2 separate regions of the Homo sapiens genome follow, and region 2 is linked to region 1. The links are contacts of gene promoters, found by promoter capture Hi-C in human tissues and cell types (Jung and others, 2019). All regions are on one chromosome and are shown on one strand. Each heading gives the region's core, a stretch centred on a gene start or on the middle of the fragment in contact. The rest is flanking DNA. Distances are from core to core; before and after follow the strand shown.

Evidence for each region. Contacts are between HindIII fragments. The study calls those that stand out against the background at their distance.
Region 2: a contact is called between a fragment that was not itself captured here and the fragment with the promoter of LAMA4 in region 1, in 1 of the 25 tissues and cell types used here (IMR-90 fibroblasts).

What each region holds. Positions count from the first base shown.
Region 1 is chr6:112,253,110-112,255,987 of GRCh38, forward strand. LAMA4 (laminin subunit alpha 4) reads right to left here and starts at 1,458. Exons shown (of 39, transcript NM_001105206.3): 1 at 1,350-1,458; 2 at 847-1,182. The coding sequence starts at 1,041. The region is part of intron 2 of LAMA4-AS1 (LAMA4 antisense RNA 1); the gene reads left to right. The HindIII fragment of the contact is 9,361 bases long and covers 1-2,878 here.
Region 2 is chr6:112,513,983-112,516,860 of GRCh38, forward strand. No RefSeq gene overlaps it. Among named protein-coding and RNA genes, the nearest start is that of RFPL4B, 170 kb to the left of the region's middle. The HindIII fragment of the contact is 5,625 bases long and covers 1-2,878 here.

The DNA of each region.
Region 1 (2,878 bases), core at 208-2,707:
GGTGTTTGTTTTGCTAGGTCAATTGCTCCTTCCTTTCCCATGAACTTAGGTGACTTTATTTTCCTCCCTCTTAGCATGTCCCATGCAATGGGCATGCTGTTGTCTGTTTCAGTTCAGGGGTTCTTAAATCACTTGTTCTGGATTCATTCTCCTTTACCAGACCTCTACATTCTGGTTTTGTTTCCAACTTAAAAGCTATTGTAAGGTATTCAAACAGCAGCTCTTTGAATAAACATATTATCAATAGCATATCCTGAGGCTTGATTTTAATGGAAACATCTTGTTTCTGGAATACAATGGCTCGTTTCTACTTAAGATACCCTCTCAGCAGTTGTCTAACAGCTCCTTTCATGACCAGCCACTCTCACTCACCCCCTCACCTTCCCTGCTGCAGAAGACTTCTTGTCTAATATGAGACAAAAAGATCCTGCAGTAGTGTTCCCACTGTCCTAACAGCACAGAGGAGCAGGAAGCCAGTGACAGGGCACACACGTTAAGTGCCGTGGCTTGACAAAATGACTACTGGGACACGCAAGTGGCAGAAGTCACCGATGTGCTGCTGCAGTCCCCGGTGAGAGTCTAGCGGATGAACTCAGAGCACCAACACATGCACTCTCACCCCTTTGAGCAGACACATTCCGAAGCCTCAACTTTCAACTCTCAACATCCAAATGCAACTTACAAAGGAAAACTCTTTATTTCAAGTTTCCGAACTGACCTAGCCCAGGTGAAACTCTCAAGGCACTGGGGAGAGGAAAGAGGCGGAGAGAGAGAGAAGGACGAGTGTGGCACAGCCCGCGGGGGCGCAGGTGCCCCAGCAGGGTGGCAATGGCAGGGACACTGTACCTCGGCCGCAGGCGGCAGGCGTCCCAGAGCCACGCGGGGTTCGCTCGTCTCAGGCGGGTCTTGCCTGCCAACCGCTGAGCTCCCTTCAATGTCAAAAGGAAAAGCGTTGTCGTCCCCGGACGCGGCGCGGGAGCAGGCAGCGCTCCAGAGGAGCCACAGAGGCAGAACCGAGCGCCAGGCTGAGCTCAAAGCCATTTCTCCGCTGACATCCAGTAGTGCTCTTCCAGGGCTCGGGCGCTGTGGGTCTCCGTAGGTCTCCCGCGTGGTGCGGCGGTGCCTCGCTTATTTTCCCTCCTCTCCGTGTGCAGTATCCCGAGGTGGCTGCGCAACCAGCAGCTTAGGAAATAAAGGGAAAGTGCGAGAGTAAGGGAGAGTTCCAGCCTCTCTCTCCCTCTCTCTCTCTCCCCTTCTCCCCCTCTCTCTCCCTCTCCCTCTCCCTCTTTCACTTTTTCTCCTTCCCGCAGAGGTTCTGGCTCAAGAACCTACAGATGGACGGAGCTTACAGTACGGCATCAAAAGGCAGACGGATTGGGGTGAGCCCCGCCAGCGCTAGGCCACCTCCTCTCCCTGGCCGTTCGGGACTGGGGACTGCGCTGTCCTGGCTTCCTTCTCACATTCATTCTCACCACTCCCTTTTTACCTTCTACTCCCAGGCCCTCCCACTCTAAGCTGGCTTTTCAGACACTGAGGTCCGCCTTTCCCTGCGGTCTTCCCTCCCCTCTCAGTTTGGAGCCCCTCCAAGGGCTCCAGAAGAATATTCAGCTTTTGTGACGCTTCCTCACCACTCTTATTTATGTAGTCAAGGTACCGGATGTCTTATCTATATTTACATAGATATTTTATGTGGCCCCCGCTAGTTTGCAGGAAAGTGGGTGGAAAAGGGATTCCAGGGCAGGAACCAAAGGTAGATGATCTCTGAAGGCAGAGGGTCAGGGTGCCCACTTTCTTGAGCAAGGTTTCTCGGGTTTTTTCTGGGGGATAGACTGTTGCACTCTTTGTGCTAATATCTTCTCTTCAGATTCACTGGCCACCCCTCTTCCTCCCTCCAGTCCTCACCCAGAGGGCTTGGGAGAAGAATATCTTTCACTGCAGCGCTGGAAAATGACTTCATTACCCAAATGCATGAACTTTTATTTACAAAGACCATCTTGTTTTCATCCTAAAGAGGTGCTTTGTAAGGGGCCCGGAACAAGGCTTGCAGTGTATGAGCCTGTCAAGTATACTGCCTACAGCCCCGGCCTCTTCCTCTTGGCCTGTAATCTCATGCCTACTACATCTGTCTGAATCATGTAACCTTTCCAAGACTTCAGGGTGAAGTTGGGCTACAGCTATGTCAGGGGTGCCCCTGTGGATGGGATAGTGTCTGCAACAGCTGATAGGTACCTTTGTTTACATTGGCTTCATAACGAGCTCTAAACATTTCCACAAGATCCAACCATGGTTTAAAAATGGTCAGATGAGACAACCATAAAATGACACCCAGGTAAGCTTCCAGGTGAAATAAAGCATTTTTGTATAACCTAATCATAAAATAAATAAATAAAGCCTTTCCATAAAACCTAATCATTAGCTCCATTTCATAGAACAAAAGTCATTTTATCTAAGTGTAAGCAAAACCATTTATTTTGCACCTAACATGTGCCAGATACTTGGCATATGCTATTTGTAAACCTCAGCATTCCTGCAAAGTAGTACCATTATTTTCCTTTTACAGAAGAAGAAAGTGAGGTTCAGAGAGACTAGGACATTTGCCCAAGGTCGCACAGCTGGTGGAAAGCAGAGATGGGGTTTGGATCCAGGCCTCACTGATTCCAAAGCTCTCTTTTACATCTGTATACACGACACTGCAACTTTAAAATAAAGAGTATGAATTCAGAGGTGAAGGAAATGGACACTTTTATTTTTTGAGTGCCTCCCATGTGCAAAAAAATCACATAAATTGTCTCATTTAGGGCTGGGCGTGGTGGCTCATGCCTGTAATCCCAGCACTTTGGGAGGCCAAGGTGGGTGGATCATGAGGTCAGGAGTTCGA
Region 2 (2,878 bases), core at 143-2,642, 260 kb after region 1:
TTTCCCTGAGTAAACTCCTTGAGGGTTTTGATCAGAAGAGACTGTTGTTTGGCAGGTTTTGAAAGCATCACTTTGGTGATTGTCAAGAAGAAGCAGACAATACAGGGCAAGCAAGGAATCATGTAAAGCAGTTAGGTGGCTATTGCGTTAATTTGAGATGGTGGTGGTTTGGATTAGAATGGGACCTTGGAGCTGATAAGAAGTGCTTGTTGTCTGAATACATGCTGAAATTTGAACTGACAGGATCTGATGATGGAATGAGATGTATGGTAGGGGAGAAACAGAAATTAAGTATTATAGAAGTTTTCAAATTTGAGACACTGCAAAAATGGAGATGCTATTTCCAGCAATGAGGGATAACAGATTTGTTGAGGGGAAATGCGGGGTATAGTTTGGATGGCTTGAGTTTATAGTGCCTAGTAGATGTCCAAGTGGAGATGTTGAGGAGCCATTTGCATTCACCCAGGAAAAGAACCTAGATGTAGAGAAGAAATGATCTAAGGATTGTGCCCAGGGCAGCCAACTTCCTTTATAGCTGGAGGACAGCAGAGAATTTAGGCATAGATGCAGATAATTGGGTAGATGTGGTGCTGGGAGCTTACGAAAGCTTCTCTCTGAGTGCTTCTGTTTTCCCATTGAAATAGAAAGTAGGACCATCATCTGAGAAAAAGGATGGGGGTACAAGTATAGGTTTCAAGGGAGATGAAAAAAAGAGTCCTTTAGAAGATAGAAGAATGAGAAGGTAAAGGGATCTGAGTGGCAGAGCCAGAAAGCTCTCTGGGTGTACCTGAATTCAAAGTTATGAATTCAACATCGGACCATTCAGTGTGATTGTATTGTTTACTCCAGCAATGTTCAGCTGTGGGAATGAAATCACAAAGTGGGTGCAAGAGTAGGATTTAATCAGGATTAGTCTTTTTACAAGGGAGAACATTGAGCAGGAGGGGGCAAAGGAAATGGGGGAATGCAAGGGAGTGATTATAATGAAGAACCAGGGAACTTAAGCTGAGTTAAGAAGAATTAGTTGACAAAGTACTAACATACAATTAAAAGAGAGCATGTAAAGACAATTGCATGAGAATTTGCTGTATGAAAACGTCACTCTATGTCTTTGAGTGTCCCTGGGGTTATAAATACTCTTTCTTTAGAGAGTATGGCTTCATACTCCAATATCACTTAGAGTCACTTTATTGTGACAATTTTGTTTAATGGGTTCCAAAACACCGTAGAGGCAGGAACAAATATTTCAAATTCACAGTACTTTTCCTGCAATACTGAAATTGAAAAACCACTACAACTTGGAAGCTGATTTTCTAATTCATTTGGTAGCAGAATATGACCTCACCTGAACTCAACTGGTGGCAAATTGTTGTTTATTTATGTAATAATGTGAATAATCCTACATTATCTGCTGAAATATTAGCATGCTTTATTAAAGGGAACTGCTGGAGACTCTGGCTGGGATGTCACATAATATACAGAATATTTCTCATTAACATTCTAAAATCTGAAAAAGCCTCAATCTCAGAACCCATTTCACCTTAAGGATTTTGGATAAGAGACTATAACCTATACTAACATTCTACTTGAAAGAAAACCGATGTTTGGATATTTAAGTAACTTGTGTAAGGCCATGAGTTGTAAGTGGGATAGCCAGGTTTGAACCCGATGCTGTGTGAGTCCAGGGTACAACTATAGAATCCATTACTGCATCCCCCTCAGCAACTTTCTTTCAATGGTTGTAGAGTTGTTCATTCAGCCACTTAACACTCATTGTGCAACTGGGGACCACAATGTGGAGGAAAGAGAAACTCTATGAGGATTCATATAATCTCCACTTGGCTATACTCAAAGAATATAGAAACATGTTAATGAGAGAGGTATCAGTCTGCCTGTTTGTCTGTCTTAACCAGGAAGATGGGTCAGAGTTGGAATGGAAACACCTTTTTTAATGTGAGGCAAGAAACTCAAAAGCAGAATCTCTCCTGTTGAGTGAACTGACATGTTCAGCCAGTACCTGCTATCACCGAAATTGCCCAGTTGAGTGGCTGCATGTATAAAACATTTGAGTTCTCAATCAAAATAAACTCATTTTTGAAAATCCACTCTTTCCACGCTACAACTACTGCCGATAATAGCAAACATTGACTTCGTGCTCACAATTTTTCAAACACTGTTGTGAACACTTCATGTATTTCATTTCATTTAATGTTTAAAACAACCTTGTGAAGTAGGTAATATTTATTATCCTTCTTTTATGGATGAAGAAATCAAAGATTAGAGAGGTTTAGCAAATACTCAAGGATATGTAGCTAGTAAAGGGAAATAAAGGCTTCTAATCTATGCTGCTAGGCTTGAAAACAGTGGTTTATAACCATTTAGCACCTTGCGTTTCAAAAGTAAGCAATGATAGCAATAATAATAGCTACTACTTTTTGTAAGCCTACTATGGGTCATATACTTTATAAACATTATCTCATTTTGCTGCCACAATAATCCCAAAAGCTTATTAACTGGGAGAACTAAGATTCAGATAGTTGTACAATTTGACTATGTCTGTACAGCTGCTAATTGCTCCTTTCTGTTACCAAGCCAAGACATTCAAGTCTGAGAAAGAAAAGGCTTCTATATGTGGTTTATCATACTGCTGTACACAAGGAGGGCAATTTTAGTTACTGGGGTGTAGTTTTTACAAAAGTTCAGGGTCAAAAGCAGTGAAAACTACGACAACTTACCCTTTTAGCCTCTAGTTTTGTAATTCTGTAAGGTTTTCTTACATACTTTTTCCCCTTTTTTTCCTTTCTTTCTTCTCCTCTCCTTGGAGAATACTTTATAGTGAAAGAGAAAAAGAGTGACTTTGTTGACCCAGTGACTTGTT